Regions from separate parts of the Homo sapiens genome. Here region 1 is linked to region 2. Evidence: promoter capture Hi-C in human tissues and cell types (Jung and others, 2019). All regions are on one chromosome and are shown on one strand. The core of a region is centred on a gene start or on the middle of the fragment in contact, and the rest is flanking DNA. Distances in the headings are between cores, read along the strand shown.

Region 1 (4,940 bases), core at 1,640-4,139, 240 kb after region 2:
GCCCCTCAGCCCCCTCTGAACTCAGCCCTCTCCAGTACCCTTGCTGTACTCTTCTCAAGGCTACCAGGCTGGGCCATGTGAGGAATTTTGAAGACAAGAAACATCCTAAGGCTGGGCTAGGTGGCTCATGCCTATAATCCCAGCACTTCAGAAGGCCGAGCAGAAGGATTGCTTGAGGCCAAGAGTTCGAGACCAGCTTGGGCAACATGACAAAACCCCATCTCTACTAAAAATACAAAAAAATTAGCAAGCCTGGCCAACATGGCGAAACACTCTCTACAAAAAATACAAAAATTAGCTGGGCATGGTGGTGCATGCCTGTAGTCCCAGCTATTCAGGAGGCTGAAGTGGGAGGGTCACTTGAGCCCAGGAAGCAGAGGCTACAGTGAGCAGAGATCGTGCCACTGAACCCCAGCCTGGGCAACAGAGCAAGATCCTGTCTCTAACAAAACAGAACACAAAATATGTACCCATTACTCAATATCTTTGGAGGGTTCACCCTACAAAAACAACTTAACATGGGCAAATACTGCAGGCTGATCTCCCCTGTAATCCATGCCCAAGCAGAGAGGCCAAATACTAGACTCCTGCTTTAGGTTCACTAAACCTATCTGTGACAGGATGGACTGAAAGCTTTGATCTAAAGTGGCTCTAGGAGGCCAGGTGCAGTGGCTCATGCCTGTAATCCCAGCACTTTGGGAGGCCAAAGTGGGTGGATCACCTGAGGTTGAGAGTTAGAGACCAGCCTGGCCAACATGGTGAAACCCCGACTCTATTAAAAATATAAAAACTTAGGCAGCCGTGGTGGTACACACCTGTAATCCCACCTACTCGTGAGGCTGAGGCAGGAGGATCACTTGAACCCTGGAGGTGGAGGTTGCAGTGAGCCAAGATCATGCCACTGCACTCCAGCCTGGGTGACAGAGCAAGACTCCATCTCAAAAATTAATTAATTAATTTAATTTAATAAAAATAAAGTGACTCTAGGAGACTTAAGAAAGGACACCTCTCCTGGAGGGACAGTTACAGGGTCACTAGAAAGAGTGGGACTGACCTCCATCAGCATATCCCCAAACAGTAGTGCTGAAAAGTCCTCTACCTTCAGCTTCCTCCCAAACATCGAACCCCCTAAAATGGGATAAGAAATCGTCACAACCATAATGCAGGATAAATCTCTCTATATGTTCCTACTTCAACCCCAAATTGTTAATTCCTAAACTCTGTGAACACTGGCACTGAAAAAGAATGGCTAAAATCTACTTGGTTCTGAAACGTATTATATGAAGCTTTGGTACAATATTCACCTGTTATATTTAGGCAGACATCAGATTGCTTTTCCTTAACACATGCTTGTTTAGAGCTGTGGAGGAGAAGCAAGCCTAAGGTTACAAATCCCCAGCAAAGATGTCACAGAATGGAAAAAGAAATAATTGACCATTTTGAAACAGCCCATTTCCTACCAGATTCTCACAGTGACTATGCACGGAGAAACCTGGACCTGCCACCATCCACCAGGGGCCAAGGCAGCCAGCAGTCCTTCCCGATAGCAAACACAGGGGCTGGGAGAAAGGAGGTATTATTTCCAGCCACTGCAGGCTTTCAGGACACAGAAGGGTCTATCCTCATAACGTTAGTAGCAGTGGAATCAATTCTATCCTTAAATCTGTTTTCAATTTGACTAATTTATTGAAGAAGGAGGCAATCAGGGCAGACACAGTGGAAATCTTCCTGATAGGAATGTGGGCCTATTAACCTCCAGGATCTCTTAGACTGATTGGTTTTAATACAAGCACAGAATCTGTTCTCTTTTGCAAGCTAGATTATAGGTGAGTCTGTCCTGAGGCAATGGGATTGGCAAAAAGACTCTCCTGCTTCCTCAGAGTTTTGAATCTTCTTGCTTAGGAGAAGCCAGATCCAATATCCAGGAGGTGAGGGCTGCAGTGTTATTTTACAAACAAGCCCTCCCTATATCAACGCCACTTACTGTACTGGAAGCCGGTATTAAGTGAACTGCTAGCGTAGTGCATCAAGGGCTTATTGAATATTGATTCCCATTTACGTGACAGCAAAATGGCCTAAGAAATCTTCTCCGGATGCCTCAGCCCCTTGATAAAGAGGGTGTTAGTTTTGTTTTATGAAGCTGGGATCCAGGCCAGTCACATCTTATAGCTCCACTTACTTTTATTTAATAAAAACAAGGGATGATATGAGTGAGGAGGGGGAGTGTGCTGTATCATGTTGTTTTTCAAGAGGGTTCAACCTGTTAGTAAAGCAAGAGGAACAAGAGTTAGGCCACAGGAAGTATTTTGCATCAGGCCATGGGCCAAGGAAGGAAATAGAAAAATCCCCAAATGGACAACCCCAAAGGCAGATACAAGTCTTTCTTCCAAGAAAAAAAAAAAAAAAACCCTACCTGGGTGACAGAAAGAAGGCATTTTGCTGGCCAGCAAATACCATACCGGCAAACAATGGAAGAGACTGCTTTTGGTGGGAAGAGATTGCTTTTATCAGCAAGAGCAGAATCACAATCTCTCATCAGGGAGGTAGGGATCCAAACATTTCCATATCCCTTCCCCATGTGCTAAATGTCCACTAACCCAGCCCTTCACCTATATGGGAATTCCTCCTATTCTCCCAATTTCCCAGAAAAAGAGATTGTACGAGCTTTCCCACCTCACCCCACTCTCAGTTTCTAGCAAAGAAAACTCCCTAATGTTAAACCCTAATTCTATTCCCCCAGTTCTTCAAAATGTTCCCCTTAGAAAATAAGCTACTGAGGCAGGTACACTGTCTCATGCCTGTAATCCCAACACTTTGGGACTCTGAGGCAGGAGGATTGCTGGAGGCTAGGAATTCAAGACCAGCCGGAGCAACATAGCAAGACCCCATCCCTAAAAACAATAATAATAATAATAAGCCCAGCACAATGGTACATGCTTGCAGTCCGAGCTACTTGGGAGGCTGAGGCAGGAGGATGGCATGAACCCAGGAGTTTGAGGCTGCACCGAGCTATTATCCTGCCATGCACTCCAGGCTGGGTGACAGAGCCAGACTCTGTCAAAGAAGGAAGGAAGGAAAGAAAGAAGGAAAGAAAGAAAGAAAGAAAGAAGGAAAGAAAGAAAGAAAGAAAGAAAGAAAGAAAGAAAGAAAGAAAGAAAGAAGAAAGGAAGGAAGGAAGGAAGGAAGGAAGGAAGGAAGGAAGGAAGGAAGAAAGAAGGAAAGAAGGAAAGAAAGAAAGAAGGAAAGCAAGAAAGAAAGGAAGAAAGGAAGGAAGGAAGAAAGAAAGAGAGAGAAAGAAAGAAGGAAAGAAAGAAGAAAGAAAGGAAGGAAGGAAAGAAAGAAAGAAAGAAAGAAAGAAAAGAGAGAAAGAAGAAAAGAGAGAAAGAGAAAGAGAGAGAGAAAGAAAGAGGAAAGAAGGAAGGAAAGAAAGGGAGAAAGAGAGAGAAAGAAAGCAAGAAAGAAAGCAAGAAAGCAAGCAAGAAAGAAAGAAAGAAAGAAAGAAAGAAAGAAAGAAAGAAAGAAAGAAAGAAAGAAAGAAAAGCTACAGTATTCTCATGGAAAGGAACTGACAGCTCCATCCCAGAACACAATGGGGCAGGGCAGGGTTGAGGAGAAGGATAGGGAAAGGCTTAGAAGGTGAATCTGCTCCTGGATCCCCTTCCCCACCGCACTTAACCTCAACTCTTAAGGTTAGACACATGACAAAACCTCTCAGTGCGAAGGACTGTAACCTCCCAGAAGGCTGAGGCATCTCTCTGGAGAGCTTTAACCACCAGAGCCATTTTCCTCTAGCGTGACTAGATGGCGTGCAGAGGCAGAGGGATGACAAGATTGGAGATAGCAACAGGGAGAGTGAATAGAGGAGCTAGGGAGTGACCACAAATTGGTCAGCCTGCCAAGAGCCACTGACCCCGTTTTAATATCCCAGAGGTTGGAGGCGAGAGTAGAAATCACAGGCTCCAGAAAAAACAATCTTTGAAAGAAAATTGGCTGTCGCAGCCAGAGATATATGAAAGTGCAGTTACAGTCGGGGGAGCGACTGTAAAACTGCACCTGGTTATTGCACTGACTGGCTGACACCATGATGCTTTTGCACTCCAAACAGTTTTTTTGAAATGAAAAATCCCTATGGACTTAGGTAACTAAGATGGTGTGGGATGCAGAGTGTAGAAGAGAAGGGGGCAGGGCCGCTCAAGCTTCAGTGTAGAGGCAGATCTGTATAAGTGGTTTGGCAGTGGCATAAACAGGGAGGAAAAGGGTTGAGGGAACCAGAGACTTAGAACTCAAGTCACACAATAACAAGGGGCAAGAAGCCAGGAGAGCTCTTATTCCAGGGGTTTTACACCAAGTTCCACAAATTAACTCTCCATCTCTGTCCTCTGGCAGTCTTTGTCTGGCTCTCAACTCATGTCTCTGCCTTTCCATCTGACTTTCCACCTCTTCATTCCTTCACTTACCTTTCACTGCTCCTCTCTCCTTTGTCCATCTTTGTATCTTTCACTTAATCTTGCTTCTGACTGGTTTTCACTATCTGTTCCTCTAACTATAACTATCTTTGTTTATCTGTCTCCATGATATCCGTCCCTCTTGTTATCCTTCCATTTTCCTTACAATCACTCTATTATATCCATCTATTTGGGCATCACTCTTTCTCTCCCCAATTCTCTCTACTCTAATGAAAAGTAGTCAAGGAGTAGAGAGAGGGAATTCTAAAGAAAATGATCAACTACCTTTTATTATAAGCACATGCTAAGTGCCAAGCCCTCACTTAAACATTCTCTTATTCAACCTTTACAACTAACCTGAGCAGTGGGTCTTATTCCCATTTTATAGATGGGAAAACAAGATCAAAAAGTCTAAGTGACACAATAGTGACAGAGCTGGGATTCAAACCCAGGCCTGCCTGGCTTCAACTACCCCGCCCTTATCAATTAATGGAT
Region 2 (4,937 bases), core at 24-2,523:
TGGGCGCAGCGCCGGCCGGGGGTGCTGACCTGACTTTGGTGTTGGGGAGTCGGTGGTCCTTCTTCCATTTCATGCGACGGTTTTGGAACCAGATTTTGATCTGCCTCTCAGAGAGGCACAGCGAGTGGGCGATCTCGATCCTTCTCCTTCGGGTCAGGTAGCGGTTGTAATGAAACTCTTTCTCTAATTCCAGGACTTGCTGCCGGGTATAGGCTGTCCTCGAGCGCTTGGGTTCCCCTCCGTTATAATTGGGGTTCACTGGGGGGAGGGGAAAAGCAAATAGTGGGGTTCAGAGGCAGCAGGCTCCCCGCCCCCCACCCTCACCCCATCCTCAGCTCTGAGAAACAGGAGGAGGGAGTGGTGGAAATAAAGTCATCAAGCTTAAATGGGTTATAAAGAAGTTGAAGGAAGCTGAAGACTTTGTAGTGTAATAAGAGGGGAATCCTCATTGTAACGACACTGAATTATTTATGCGCCCTTAGAAAGCGAGCATAGTTTTCACACATACATAACAGATCGTAGCACATGGCTCGGACTGCCCAGAGTAGCTAAGCCATAAAATTTATGGGGGATGTAATTACCCATTCTCGCTCGTAAATCCAGTTCAATTGTGCTAACCCAGAGTCGCTCCTGGAGAGAGAGGGGGAAGGAGAGAAAGGAGGACGGGGGCCAGAGGGGGCCGAGGAGGGTGGGGAGCGCTAGGGAAGAAGGGAGGGAGGGGGGGAGCAAAAAGCAAAGTTGCCTACCCGTGCTAACGTGAATTTTTTTCATCCATGGGTAGACTATGGGTTGCTTGCTGGCGGCGCTGGAGGGATGGTCGGGGGCTGGCTGGCTGCAGGCTGGCGGGGCTGGGGACGGGGAGGCGGAGGCGCCTGAGAGAGGCGCCGGCTCGCAGAGCGACTGTGATTTCTCGGGGTGGTGGTGGCCCGCCTGGGCCGGCCCGTGGCCTCGCGAATTGCCGGGCCCCTGGAGACTGGTGCAGCTATACTGGCGCTCAGGGTAGCTAGGGCGCGGAGGCGGTGGTGGGTACAGCTCCTGGTGGTGATGCTGGAATCCCGATTCCCTGGTCCGGCCGTAATATTCCGGACTGTGTTCAGGGATGTAGCTATTTTGCGAATATTCTTCGCATGGAGGAAATTTCGGATCGATGTAGTTAGAGTCCATCAAATACGAGCTCATGATCATTAATTTCTGGAGTGGAAAATAATTTTTCTCGCTTTGTCGTTTTTCTGCTCCATAAAGCCCTCCTACTAGCTAGCGACCCTGTAAAGTTACTTTCACCATGTGACTCCTCCGGCCAATCACACGGAGCAACCCAGTCCCCGGATAAGGAACCGAATCGCTTTATTCAAAATGTATCCAATTTTTTTGTGTGTGTGGTGGTGGTGGTGCTGGGAGGCGGGGGTGGGTGGTGATGTGGGGTTAGCTAGCAGAGGTTGGAGTGCCCCCAGTGCACATCCCGCCAGACTGACAACCCTCCCCTGCAAAAGGAGATGGGAAGCTCCCGGCTCCCCTCCAAAGCCCGGGCATTGGGGGACTGTCGGGAGGCAGTGATTCAGCCCCCGCCCAGGGTCTCCCCTCAGGCCTCTGCTGGGCCCCGTGGGCCTCGGCTCCTGAGCTTTTCCAGAGGTCTCCATTCATGGCGATCGTGTCTCAGTCTGTGTAGGTCACGGGGCAGCGCCCCTCTTTCGCAGGAAGAGGAAGTTGAATGAGGACTGGAGTGGATGTTGGATGGGGAGGGGCCCAGGCTGAGCCGAGGAGGCTGGAGAGCCTGGAGTGCCCCCCATCCAAGGATACCAGAGTCCAGCCCCTCTTCCCCATACACACTCACCCAACCCTCTGGCCATGCGGCCGGCGAGGCAGGGTCCCAGCTGGACCAGGCAGGTAGAGGCAGCGGGATGCAAATGATTCTGACGTCATTTCTGGAGGTCTGGGGGTTGAGCCCCCGCTGAAGAGAGACAGGAAGTGGTTGGCAAAAGCAGAGTTCAGAAGTCTCGCCTTCCCCTGCTACCCACTGACCCTCCCTGCCCCAGCCCCAGAGCAGAGGATCTCTTCTACTGCTGGCTTCTGTTTCCACTCCCCATTCAGCCCGGCCTGCTATTTTCTGACAATTATCTCCAAGGAGCTGGGGCAAGGAGGAGAGCTTTCTGCCAGGAGTCAGTGCCCTGTGATGGTGCCCAGCCAAGATCCTGAGAGTTCTTTCTCTGTCCCCACAGAGGGCAGACCTAGCTAAGAGGGAGGCCTGTGTGGGTAGAGCCTGCTTGCTTCTGGCTAGGAGCTGTATCCATGTAACACGTGTGTTTACATGTAAACACGAATTCCTAAAGGCCAGCTCCAGGCTGCTTTCCAAAAACGGAAGGCTAAGCTCACCAAGTTGGGGAGGCACGGCCAGCCTTTGGGGTCTCCAGCCCATTCACACCCCCTGCTCTCTCTCTGCCACCCACTCACAGTAATACTCTGATGGAGGGGGGTGACAGGGCCGTAGAGGAGGGAGGGGGCCAGGAAAAGCTGCTTTCCTAACCACCACCCCCCCCCCCCAGCTAGGGGTGGTCCTGTCATGCCACCGATTCCAATTAACTGATCGCCCATAACTCAGAGTTGCGGGGGGTAGCGGAGGGGAGAGCCCAGGGAGGGAGCCGGGTCCCCTTGTTGTACTTGATAACAATTATAGTTTAAAATCATAGCTTGCCAGGGCTCAGCTATATTTTACTTGATAACAATAAAAGTGACACATAAAGTTAACTGTTTATGTTTTATTTATTAGACTAAATCTGCCAGCGGTGGTAGGAGCGCTTGCCTCGTCGCTACAGCTTTTATAGGGCTGTAAAACGTCATAAATCAGTCTCGCGGAATCGCCCGCACTCTTTGTGTCGGCGGCGGCGCAGGGCTGGCGGCCGCTGGCTGCCTGCTCCCTCCTTTCCACGAAAAGTCGTAATGTGATTTTTTTTCCCTCTGATTTTATTATTATGATCGCCGCCGTGATTAGTCAATCTACCTTTAATTCGCCGCCCTACGCTACCTCCTCCCAGCCCAGCCTGGTTGACACTTGAATAAGTACCTTTTAAAACGGCATAACAACTATTTGAGGGTTTAATTAGAACATCTGCAATTAAGGGAATGAGGAGGGGAAAGGGAAAAAAAAAATAAAGCCCTTGTGAGAGGGAGACTGAAGGCAAGAGATTCCAATCCTTTTCTCATCACCTTTGGGATGTTGGAGAGGGTCCCCACTTCCAAATTAGGGCTTCCCCAAAGGGCTGGAATGAGAGGGAAGCTGGACCCACAGCCGTGCCCAAAGGGTGCGGATTCCCGCCTGGGCCCTCGTTGCCTTCCCTCCTCCAATGCTTAGGCCCCCAGCCCCACCCCAGGCTCAGCAGGGCCAGGGCTTAGCTCCCAAGGAGCTGGTGCTTGGTGGTCCCTGAATACTCTCTCTCCAAGAGGACAGTGCCCATCCCCACTGTAACCAGGCCAGGTGAAGGAACAGGAGTTCCCCAGAGGCTGAACACCTCTAATGGAGATTCCCAAATTCTCAGAGTTGGCTGAGAACCCTTGCCCACTCTTGTCCGGAACTCTCTGCATGTGAGGACAGGCTGGTTTGGTTGGAGAGGAAGTTGAGACTGTGAGTGAGGGGGCGGAGGAAGGCTACTGCTTGGTTAATAGTGGTTTGGGTTGTGTGGGGTTGTCTTAATCATTGGTGGTGGGGGTGGGTTCATTATAAATTGCTGGAAGAGGGCAAAGGGAAACCAGTGCTGAATCCTAGTACCTAAGTCTGAACTGTAGTCCCAGATGGCTCCACCGGGAAGTCCAAAGCTCAGCAAACTTTGGTGCCATGTGGAGAGGGTTGATGAAGAGGGAGGAAACCTTCCCGGCCCCACTCCCAGTCTCCCTTCTAGGCCTGTACCTGGATGCGGCTGCCTCACCTGGAAAGGTGAGCTGTGAGCCTGACTCTCATCCTCTCAGCCCTCACACTCACCTTTTACCATCCGTGCCCTGACGCTAACCCTCTTTTCTTCAATCTTCACCCTCCTGTACTTGTTAAGGAGTCCTCCCCAATATGTTGCCTGTCACATCCCACCCCCGCCAGGTTTCTGAGCTTCTGCAGGGGGGTCAAGGAGACTGACTTTGGGCCAGTATAAGTAGTAGACACAGAGGGTTCAGATGCCCCCAACTGAATGTCAAGTCTGTCTTTGGTTATTATGGTTAACATATATGCGTGCACACTATTAATATTTATTAATATATTAAATGCCTCTTTATGCAGCTATAAATATGTAGAGTTTTCATTCCAGGTTCGTGCAGCTAATTCAACATGCACATCCAGAAAGTGAAATCTCCAAGATTCCCCCAAATGTGCCCACACTCATCTACATCATTTACAAAACAACAACAGCAACTCTCTTTGGGCTCCTATAGCTTAATAGCAAGGAAGTCGCCTGTCACATGGGTAAAATACCACACACATACACACAAACATTTTCACCTGGATATTATTACAAGCACAGAAATAAAATCCGTTGGAAGGGCTTTTGCACTTAGCAATGGCTTAATTGGGAGGGGGTGGGGGTACTAAAGCAGCTCTCATCTGTGATGAATCCTTGTATCTGGTCCTGTCTTCTTTTGTGTTTCACCCTCCTGCCTCCCGCCTTGCTGGCCCAGGGGCTGCACCTCTGCCCTGTCCTCAACCTCACTTTGCCCCAGTTTTATTTATTTTTATTTTTTCTGACTACCTTTTGCCAGCATCCAAATGCTCTCTGCAATTGCCCCTCCACCCCATCTCCTTTCTAAATCTCGATTTGGTTTCTCTTTCGGAAACACGTTTCAGTACAAAGCGCTTCCCTTCTGACATCGCTGAAGAAAAATATGTGTCCATTGTGTGTGAGGCCTTATTGTGCCTGGATTACCATACTGACCGTTGGATAACCCATATTCCTCCCCTCCCC

What was found. The method cuts DNA at HindIII sites, captures the fragments that hold promoters and counts their contacts. A contact is called where the count stands out against the background at its distance.
Region 1: a contact is called between a fragment that was not itself captured here and the fragment with the promoter of HOXC4 in region 2, in 1 of the 25 tissues and cell types used here (thymus).

The regions. Positions count from the first base shown.
Region 1 is chr12:53,810,697-53,815,636 of GRCh38, reverse strand. The region is part of intron 1 of LOC105378250 (a long non-coding RNA gene); the gene reads right to left. Among named protein-coding and RNA genes, the nearest start is that of CISTR, 61 kb to the right of the region's middle. The HindIII fragment of the contact is 3,858 bases long and covers 961-4,818 here.
Region 2 is chr12:54,050,171-54,055,107 of GRCh38, reverse strand. HOXC4 (homeobox C4) reads right to left here and starts at 1,273. Exons shown (of 2, transcript NM_153633.3): 1 at 747-1,273; 2 at 1-258. The coding sequence starts at 1,185. RefSeq lists a cis regulatory region at 982-1,482 and enhancers at 2,059-2,218, 1,514-2,495, 2,496-3,477. The HindIII fragment of the contact is 12,403 bases long and covers 1-4,937 here.